3 separate regions of the Homo sapiens genome follow, and regions 2 and 3 are each linked to region 1. Evidence: promoter capture Hi-C in human tissues and cell types (Jung and others, 2019). All regions are on one chromosome and are shown on one strand. Each heading gives the region's core, a stretch centred on a gene start or on the middle of the fragment in contact. The rest is flanking DNA. Distances are from core to core; before and after follow the strand shown. Region 1 holds the start of CNDP2 (carnosine dipeptidase 2). Region 2 has its middle 110 kb from the start of FBXO15. Region 3 has its middle 80 kb from the start of FBXO15.

Region 1 (3,377 bases), core at 427-2,926:
CTTCCACCAATGTTTACTTTTTGCAATGTTTGCAAAATGTGTAATATAGTTTTTTCTTTTTATCATTCATGTACAATAATTATTATGAGAATTTAATCCAGAAGAAAAAATGTTAATACTTAAAGCTTTTTGGTTATAGCAAAGTGTCTATGGCCATACCACCCTGAACATGCCTAATCTCATCTGGTTATAGCAAAGTAAATATTAATTTAAATTTTTATCATAGTCTGTTGTAGAGAAATGATTAGGATATGAGTAAGACTATTAAGTATAAAAATGTTACATTTAACAAAATTCTATGAGGGATGTGGAATAGAAATAAAAAATAAAAGAGGAGGCAGGGATGGGGGGGACGGGGTGGCTCACGCCTGTAATCCCAGCACTTTAGGAGGCTGAGGCGGGTGGATCAGTAGGTCAAGAAATCGAGACCATCTTGACCAATATGGTGAAACCCTGTCTCTACTAAAAATACAAAAATTAGCTGGGTGCGGTGGTGCGCACCTGCAGTCCCAGCTACTCGGGAGGCTGAGGCAGAATGGCTTGAACCTGGGAGGCGGAGCTTGCAGTGAGCTGAGACTGGGCTACTGCATTCCAGCATGGCAACAGAGCAAGACTCTGTCTCTAAATAAATAAATAAATAAATAAATAAATAAATATAAAAAGAGGAAACAAACCATGTAAATTTTAAGGGAGGAGACAATTTTAACATTTTACTTTATGTGGGAACGTATACATCTCTTACAACTATTAAATTCATTTTTAAAAAATAATAACTCCCGAGCCATCACTCCTTAAAGAATGTGGTAGTGGTACAAGTTTAAAGAAAGTCTTTTGAGAACACTCTATTGGAAAAGTGAGCAGACTAGGGAATAACAATTTTACCCCCAAGAATTGTTGTTAAGATTAAAAAGGAAAGCGCTGTCGCAGACGCTCAAACACGGTGCTGGCTCTGCTTCCTTCATCAGTTCCTAGGGTCATGGGACACAAATACTAAAATATTTCCACTACTGGTAACGATGCTGGCGAACGCTTTCCTAATCCAGTTCAGACCGACCTCTCATTGGAGCTTGTGTGACCCGCAGGAGTCCGTGCCCCGACTCCGCCGGGACTGAAACGCAACGGAAAGTGCAGTGCTGGATGCGCAAGGGAATGGGAGCGTCGTGGGACCTCCGGAGCCTGGGAGATCAGAGGGTGGAGTCAGGGCCCCCTAGTTTTGGACTCCATTGCCGCACTGCAGGCGACTTCTCGGACCCCACCGTTGAAGCACCAGGCCCCCCGCCCACCCAAGAGCAACCGGGAAGCACAGCACAAGCCCACAGCTCCGGACACGCGCTCCCGTGTGCCCTGCCTCCCCTGAATCCCAACCCACGAAATCTCCGCCCCCTCGCCACGCCCACATCCCCGTCTACCGTCGGGGAGGGGCGACGAGGCGAAAGCCTTGTGGACCAGGCCGGGATTGGTGGGCGGGACGGAAATGGAGCTGGGAGAGGTGACGTCACCTTCCGCACCTGGCTCAGGGCGGAAATGGGGCGGGGAGAGAGTGACACCACCCCTCTGCCTGTGGCTGGATTGGTGGGCGTGGCGGGGGCGTGGCGATGCCTGCCCTCCGGACAAGGCGGGGTTGGTGGCCAGGGCGACCGCGGGGCGGGCCAGCGCCGGGGGTCGTGGCCGGGACACGTGGTACGGAACCGGCGCCGCGCTTGCTGCTGGTAACAGGGCCTTGCCTAGTGGGCCTTCCTTCCCAGGTGGGTCTTCCTGATGGACCTTCCTTCCCGGGTGGGCGCCCTGAGCTGGGAACGGGCTGGGCGGGGAGGACCCGGGTCAGCGGCGAGAGTCACGCCTCATTCGTGGGGGAGCGTGGGGCGCCCGGCCGCAGCCAGGCGGGAACAATGGTGTCCGGGCTGTTCCCGAGCGCGCGGTCGGGGGCGGAGGCCCGTGACGGCCATGGCCCCGGGGCCTCTCGCACCTCCGGGCCACTCGTGTCCCAGCAGCGCCGAGCGCGTCCCCGGTACGCAGGGACAAGCTGGGCGGCGCACTTGGCCTGAGCCTGCGTGGCCCTCCCTGGTGGAGTCGAGTGGAACGACCCGGGTTGGAGATGGGGTTGCGGGGAGCCGAGCGCTGGTCAGGCCACACCCCTCCCCAGGGGCCTGCTGAGAACTCCAGCCTTTCTCCAACGGATCCCTTTCCCGGAGACCTGGGGTGGGGAGTGTGGCGGGACAGAAGCCTCCCAGGTTCAAAGGGCCCTGGACAGCGTCCCTAGCTCCCGCCAGCATTTGAGGCAGCGTTTAAGGCTATAGGAGGAAGCGTCTGAGGGGAGACAAAATTCCCATGCCAGCTTGATGGTCTGGGGCAGGTGTCTTATTCAATTGGCTTCAGTTTCCTCATCTGTGAAATAGAGACAATATTTGGTCCTCACAGACAGGGCCACCAAACCAAACTCCCCACCGCCTGCCAAGGTCAGATTCCGTAGATCATCCAAGCATAGACTGCAGGAAGAGGCGGAGAACCCGGGGCCTGCTACCAATACCTTCCTTGTCCCTAATGTTTGCAGGCAGGAGTGGAGGAAGAGAAGTCCACATTATGCTTAGGGATCAAGTTCTAGCTTGGGCAGATTGGAGATTCTTTTATTGGTTCTTAATCAGACATGAAGGTGTGATTCAGTTATTTGTGTTATATATGCCTTCAATTATCAAGGGACAGGGACTGAGATTCTCAGAACTAGAAGACTCATTTGTGTGTACTACTGACGGTTCCAGGTGCCACAGCAATTTCTCCTGCCCTCCACTAGTCTCAACATTTAAATCATGTTACTCCCTTGCCAGGCATGGTGGCTCATGTGTGTAACCTCGGCACTTTGGGAGACCAAGGCGGACAGATCGCTTGAGTCCAGGAGTTCGAGACCAGCCTGAGTAACACGAGCAAACCCCGTCTCTACAAAAAATACAAAAATTAGCTGGGTGTGGTGGTGCGCACCTGCAGTCCCAGCTACTTGGGAAGCTGAGGCAGGAGGATCATTTGAGCCTGGGAGACAGAGGTTGCAGTGAGCCAAAATCACAGCAATGCACTCCTGCCTGGGTGACAGAATGACAACCTGTCTCTAAATAAATAAATAAAGTTACTCCGTATGAACTTTAGATTTTTAGAGGGGAGTGAGGTGTCATTTAAAAGGATAATGCTTTTGCTTAAATCAGCATACTGCTTTTACCTTAATTAGTGGTGTTCTCCAGAGCATATAAAAATGGTTCCATTTAATGGCTTTGTAACGGGGGAGGTGGGGGGAAGTGAAACAGGAGTAACCCAGAAGTGTGAATGGGAGGAGAAACTGGAACCTGGCCTAGCCTGGTTTGACTGGATGAGTGATTAACAGGAGTTGCTTT
Region 2 (3,377 bases), core at 489-2,988, 460 kb before region 1:
TGGTTTTCGTATGAAAGGCACACCCTCAGGGCAGTCATTTGCTGTCTCTAGGAACTCGCCAGCCCTGGGAAGGGCTGTCTCATCCCAACAACCAAAGCTCCCAAGACGCTGAAGCATCATAAAACACAGAAAATAAAACCCATGATGAATACAGTGTGGAAATGTCTCAAATATCCTCTCAGAACTTATACATTTGATCAACTTTGTATCAGTGAGCCAAGATCATGCCATTGCACTCCAGCCTGGGCAACAAGAGAGAGACTTTGTCTCAAAAAAAAAAAATTATTATTCCCAAAAATAACAGAAAAAAAATTACTGCTCTGTGTATGTAATGGACTGGTATGGTTGAATCTGTGTCCCCGCCCAAATCTCATGTCGAATTGTAATCCCCAGGGTTGGAAGTGGGGCCTGGTGGGAGGTGACTGGATCATGGAGGTGGAGTTTTCATGATGGTTTAGCAGCCTCCTCCCTTGGTACTGTATCGCGATAGAGTTCTCACAAGATCTGGTGTTTAAAAGTGTGTAGCACCTCCCCTCCCCCTTCCTCCTGCTCCTGGCTGTGTAAAGTGCCAGCTTCCTGTTCGCCTTCCGCCATGATTCTAAGTTTTCTGAGGCCTCCCCAGAAGCTGATGCCACCATGCTTCCTGTACAGCCTGCAGAACCATGAGCCAACGAAATCTCTTTTCTATATATATTACCCAATCTCAAGTATTTCTTTATAGCAGTGTGAAAATGGACTAACACACATACTCTCTTCATGAATGCCAGATTGTTCTAAGAATCTACATGTTACCATGTCACAACCTGCTTAAAACTCTCATGTCCTCCCCTAAGGTTGAACTCTTTAGGAACACACACACAGGCCCTCCCATCCTGGCCCGATGAAGACATTCAGCTCCAACCCCTGCCATTCAAGAATATCACACTATTTGCCTGCGATCTCTATGCAATCATATCAAATAAAACCCTTACATTATCCCGTAGCACACACCAGGCAGTCGGCTAAGCATTCACAGGAATTACTTGATTTAATCCTTCAGACAATATGCCCATTTTACATGAAAGGAAGTCAAGGCCCAAGAGCTCAAGTCACTTGGCTCTGTCACATACTTAGGAAGTGAGGGTGTTGGATTTGAAGCCGGCCAGTGCCTTTTGGAGCCATGGCTTGAGCATTCCCACTCTACAGCCTCTCTGGGCCTTGAGCCCCTTTGTTCTCCCTCATATCCTTCCCTGGCCCCCTCACTGTGATTCACAGGGCCTCACTATCCCCTCAGCTGCACTAAACTTTAGGCAGGCTTCCTCCTGACTGTAGAGCCCGATTTCGCTTTTCCTAGAGCATTTACTTTAGAAAACTTGCCATTGTGATTCCTTTATCTGCCGCTTTGAGATGTAAAGCTTCCTCCAGCCTCTAGCCAGTTTTATAGCCCAGAATTGTCTTCCTCAAGGACCTGAGGGCCATCACTTTGAAATATAATCATCAAGAAAGATACCTCCTTGATTATGGTGATCATTTCACAGTGCACACAGATACTAAGACACCAAAAAGTACACCTTAAAGATATACAATTTTTGTCACTTATACCTCAATAAAGCTGGAGGAAAAGAAAGACAGCATCCTTATTCCTCAGTCTCTATGGGAAGGTAGGAACCTGGAAAACAAAGGTCACTTAGCAAGCACAGCTTTCCTAATCCCACGGACCGGCCTCTGCCCTGACATACTTAGAGCTTTCTACCCTTCAAACCACTCCTGCTTTTCGTCTCAACACAGTTGAGTTCTAGCGTGCGCGCGTGCTCTCGCACTCTCTCTCTCTCTCTGTCTCTCTCTCTCTCTCCTATTGCAATAGTCTTGGGTAAAGTCTTTCTGGCCGTTTTTAACAGGCCTCTAGTGAAATTTTTCTTCTACAACTTTCCTTTTCCCACCACAGAACAGTCTCGGTGATGCCTCCTCACCCCGCCAGCAGGGGGCAGCAGGCCTGCTCCACATGGCTCCCATGGAGGCCTTCCTACAGCAAGCAGAGACCACAGCAGGCAGAGAACACTGCACGCAGAGGCCACAGGGCACAGAGACCACTGCACGCAGAGACCACAGCACACAGAGACCACAGTACACAGAGACCACTGCACGCGGGGGCCATAGTACGTGGAGACCACAGCACACAAAGACCACAGCAAACAGAGACCACAGCACACAGAAGCCACAGCACACAGAGACCACAGTATGCAGAGACCACTGCACACGGGGGCCATAGCACGTGGAGACCACAGCACACAGAGACCACAGCACACGGAGACCACAGCACACAGAAGCCACAGCACACAGAGACTACTGCACACGGGGGCCACAGCACACAGAGACCACAGCACACAGAGACCAGAGCACACAGAAGCCATAGCACGCAGAGACCACAGCACTCAGAGACCACAGCACACAGGGGCCACGGCACACAGAGACCACTGCACGTGGAGGCCACAGCACACAGCGGCCACAGCATACAGAGACCACAGCATGCAGAGACCACAGCATGTGGAGCCCACTGTATGTGGAGACTACAGCATGCAAAGACCACTGCCCATACACCACAATACATGGAGACCACTTGCCCTCAGGACCATGTGCCCCATGGGTCTGCAAGCTCTCCCCAGACCAAAGCTTTCTCCTACTCTTCCTCTTTGAATTTTTCTTCCTCTTTTCTCAGCTTTCTGGCTTATATTCAGCAGAGTGCATACCACACTGTGAATGCTAGTAAGAGTGCAATGAAATGATCACATAAATGAACTGGAAAAAGAAAACAAATCTTTCAATAACTTATTTTAAATCAGAAGGAATGCAAACTATGAGAAGAGTATGTATTTTGTATGTATTACACTAGCAGTTTCTAGATTTTAGGATGAGATTAATTTCAGCTTTCCAAGGACATGATTCAACAGGATAGGAAAAGAAACAAAGCAAAAAGAAATAATGCCAATTCTTGCAGTAGATAAATTCCAAGCCTCTGTACCTGATTCCCAATTCTACTCTACTTTTCCCTTTTCAGCCGTGCTGCTAAGTAATACGCACAGACATAATTCTCTGTAATACACTGCTCAGTATAAACACGGAGAAATGATAACTGTATTAGCTGGACATTTATTATGGGCCAGGTGCTACCCACGTTATTTAACACAGCAATCTTATGAGACATTTTCTATCATTACACAGATGATATTTCACAAATGACAAAACTGAGACCCAGGGAACCAAATCACACATACAAGGTGACTCGATTAATGGGCAGCAGAGTGCAGAACAGAAGCAAAGCTGCCCCAGTGGCAAAAGCAATGCTCTAGCCATTGTCCTTGCTGCTCCACCCTGAAGGCCAACTACAAACAAATGCAAAC
Region 3 (3,377 bases), core at 635-3,134, 430 kb before region 1:
CACACTTTTAAACTATCCGATCTCGTGAGAACTCACTCACTATCACGAGAACAGCATGGGGAAACTGGCCCCATGATCCAATCACCTCCCATCAGACCCTTCCCCAGACATATGGGGATTACAATTTGAAATGTGATTTGTGTGGGGACACAAATCCAAACCATATCAGTTTTTTTTAATGCTGTACCCATTTAATGCTTGACCCGATTTTGAGGATAGAGGCTGGTCAGTTCCCTTCCTGAGCAGTTAAGTCCACACCCCAACCAGTTCCCTTATCAGGCTCTCATCGTCAATGTCCACTATGTGCCAGCCTTAATGGCTCCGGGGCCAGGTACCAGACAACTAGGATATGCCCACAGAATTATTCAAGTCAGCCAATCCACAGGGAGGCTGCCAGACCTAGCTAGTCTCCCTCCACATCCAGCTCACCATTAATAGGCTGCTTCTGCAATGCCAGCTTGCTGTTACCCTGTCCCCAGGGGCAACCCCCAAGCAGCCCTATCTGGCAGCCTTCTCTCATTTGGAGCTGCAAGTAACCACGAGTTCTGCCCATCATCCATCCGAATGCCAGGATGTTGTGGGCATGAAAAGTAATCTTTAATCCTATAGGTCAATGGTTGAGTGTGACATTTCTGAGCCTCAGTAGATGAGAGGGCCGCACAAACAGGAGTGGGCGCCCTGAGGCATGAGGGGTGGGGGCCCTGGCATAGTGCAGAGGGTCTCCTTGTGCCTGAGCCTCTCATCACAATCTGTCAGAGCCCAGGAGAGGAAGCGAGGCATCTGCAGGAGAGGTGTGATGGGAGATGGGATGGGATGCCCCGAGGAGGAAAGAGATTCAGGATGATGGGAGTCAGGTGGGCATGCGAGCACCAAGCATCCAAAGGAGAAAACAAGAATGACCTTGTGGTGCTGTGTTGAAACTGAAGATACAGGAGTGAATTCGTGCTTTTCAATATCTGCGGATATATTAAGTTCGTGCATAAGTAATTGCGGTTTTCGCCATTAAAAGTAATGGCAAAACCGCAATTACTTTTGCAACAACCTAAAAAAAGGATATAAGTGAATGTGTAGCATACATATGAGGGGGAATACTTACATTCCTGATGCTGTTCTTGGAGAGGAAGTGAAGCAGTGACACCTCAGTAGGAATGAGCATGCCTGGCACCCACATCTTTGTTTCCAAATACTCTCCACCAGAAGGAAGCCACGCTCTTTGAAGAAAGGCTGATTCCAGGGCTGTGGCAGGGAAAGTACAGGATGAGTCTGAACCACCTTATTCCAGAAAGGAAGTGTCCAGAGAGTGATGGGGGACATATCACTAGCCAGGGCTTCTGCCAGACAGACCTGAGAAAATTTGAGCACAGAAATAAATAATAATGGTAACTGATGACAACCCAGTGAGGAAAAAAAGAAAACCATGATTCTATACTGATAGAAACAAATAAATATGTTAAAAGTTTGCCAATGAATAGGACAGTTACCTAGTTTCAAAGTACCTCCCACAAAATAATCATCACTAAGGTGGGAAAAGTAACCAGAGAAGATGCCAGACACCATTCTCATCCAGGGCCTGCAGGGAACAGTTTGGTAAGGGGACAAATTGAAATCCTATGACCCCGATAGGACACAGTGAGAACACAGCACCACTTCTGCAATATTTTCTGACAAAGATGCTGTATTAGTCCATTCTCATGCTGCCATGAAGAGATACCTGAGACTGGGCAATTTATAAAGAAAAGAGGTTTAATGGACTCACAGTTCTGTATGGCTGGAGAGGCCTCAGGAAACTTACATTCATGGTGGAAGGGGAAGCAAACATGTCCTTCTTCACATGGCAGCAACAAGGAGAGTGTAGAACGAAGTGGGGGAGAAGCCCCTTATAAAATCATCAGATCTCATGAGAACTCACTATCATGAGAACAGCATGGAGGTAACTGCCCCTATGATTCAATTACCTCCCACCAGGTCCCTCCCACAACACGTGGGAATTATGGAAACTACAATTCAATATGAGATGTGGTGGGAACACAGCCAAACAGTATCAAATACATATTATCAGACAAGCTCATATTGAGGGACATTCTTTTAAATAACTGGCCTGTGACATTCAAAAGTATCAAGGTCGTAATAGTCAAGAAGCCTGGTGAGCCATTCCAGAGTGAAGGGGAGGAGAGCCATGGGCCAACCAAACACAGCACCTGATCCTGAACTGGACCTTCTGCTATGAGGTCATTACTGGGACAACTGGGGAAACGTGAATGGGGGCGGTCTAAGCATGAGATCATTGTCATCAGTTGTGTTGATCTCCTGATTGTGGTGGCTGTGATTATGTTATTAGGAAACTATCCTTGTTTGTAGGAAATATACATTAAAGTATTGAGAGGTGATGGGGCAACCTGTTAGCAACTTACTCTCAAATGATTCAGTCATTTAAAAAAAAGTTATTTGAACTGCACTTGTAACAGTTCTGTAAGTTTTGAGAGTGCTTCAAAAGAAAAAAACTAAAAATAATTATCAAACTGAACTCCTTGATTTAAAAAAAATATATATTGTCTTGTCATTTAGGAACCTGGAGAAAGACATTTTTAAGTGTCTCCCAAAGTAGATTTCCCAGTTGTTTTCAAATTGCTAACGTTTGGAAAGCTCTGGTCACCTAAATACTACTAAGGTAAATTATTTTCCCCTAAGATCTTTTGCTTCATGTCCTGGTCCACTTCCCTTTCTCACACCCTTAATCATAGGAGGCCAAAAGCACACAAATGTTACTTCTGCTCAGATTCCCACCACGACCTCCCACCTGTTATCCCTGCCTTCACGTCCTCCTGCTCCAATCCATCCTTTCCCATCTGTGTGGAAACCACGTCCAACCAATGACAGTTTGCTTTGGCCAAATGGAGGTGGAGTAGTTTAGAAACAAAATTTTCATTTATATTCTGATTTATATCTTCCTATTATTTGAATGTATTACCTTTGTATATGAAAACAAAGCAAAACATTTAAGAACTTCCGATCATGTAAAGAATCAAGTCCAACTCTATCTGGACATGCTGTTCCCTTCTCAGCATGGCCCAAGCTGTGGCAGGTTTACTTTCTCCAGGCTGTAACCACAGCAAGCCCCTCTCCACACCCTTTACACGAGGGACTCTTGTGCAACCCTGGGCTCTTGTGAAATGGGAGAATTCTCCTGTGAAGAAACTGGCAGCCCTAAAGAACAGACTTCCTAATACGCATATTTGGAGGTCCCAGTACCAAACGCAGTGCAGGGCCCAATTACTCCAGTGTACCCATCAGTTGACAAGTGGGTCCCCTCGGCAGACCTCCTGCACAAGTGGGTTCCCTCGGCTGACCTCCTGCTGCACTTCTGAGGGCCTCAGTCT

Evidence for each region. The method cuts DNA at HindIII sites, captures the fragments that hold promoters and counts their contacts. A contact is called where the count stands out against the background at its distance.
Region 2: a contact is called between a fragment that was not itself captured here and the fragment with the promoter of CNDP2 in region 1, in 1 of the 25 tissues and cell types used here (spleen).
Region 3: a contact is called between a fragment that was not itself captured here and the fragment with the promoter of CNDP2 in region 1, in 3 of the 25 tissues and cell types used here (lymphoblastoid cells, mesenchymal stem cells and spleen).

What each region holds. Positions count from the first base shown.
Region 1 is chr18:74,494,687-74,498,063 of GRCh38, forward strand. It overlaps CNDP2 (carnosine dipeptidase 2), which reads left to right and starts at 1,677. Exons shown (of 12, transcript NM_018235.3): 1 at 1,677-1,745. RefSeq lists enhancers at 963-1,232, 1,790-2,302, 2,686-2,785 and silencers at 1,503-2,012, 2,143-2,192. The HindIII fragment of the contact is 9,626 bases long and covers 1-3,377 here.
Region 2 is chr18:74,038,952-74,042,328 of GRCh38, forward strand. No RefSeq gene overlaps it. Among named protein-coding and RNA genes, the nearest start is that of FBXO15, 110 kb to the right of the region's middle. RefSeq lists enhancers at 1,843-2,137, 2,012-2,141. The HindIII fragment of the contact is 4,124 bases long and covers 1-3,377 here.
Region 3 is chr18:74,066,235-74,069,611 of GRCh38, forward strand. No RefSeq gene overlaps it. Among named protein-coding and RNA genes, the nearest start is that of FBXO15, 80 kb to the right of the region's middle. The HindIII fragment of the contact is 9,534 bases long and covers 1-3,377 here.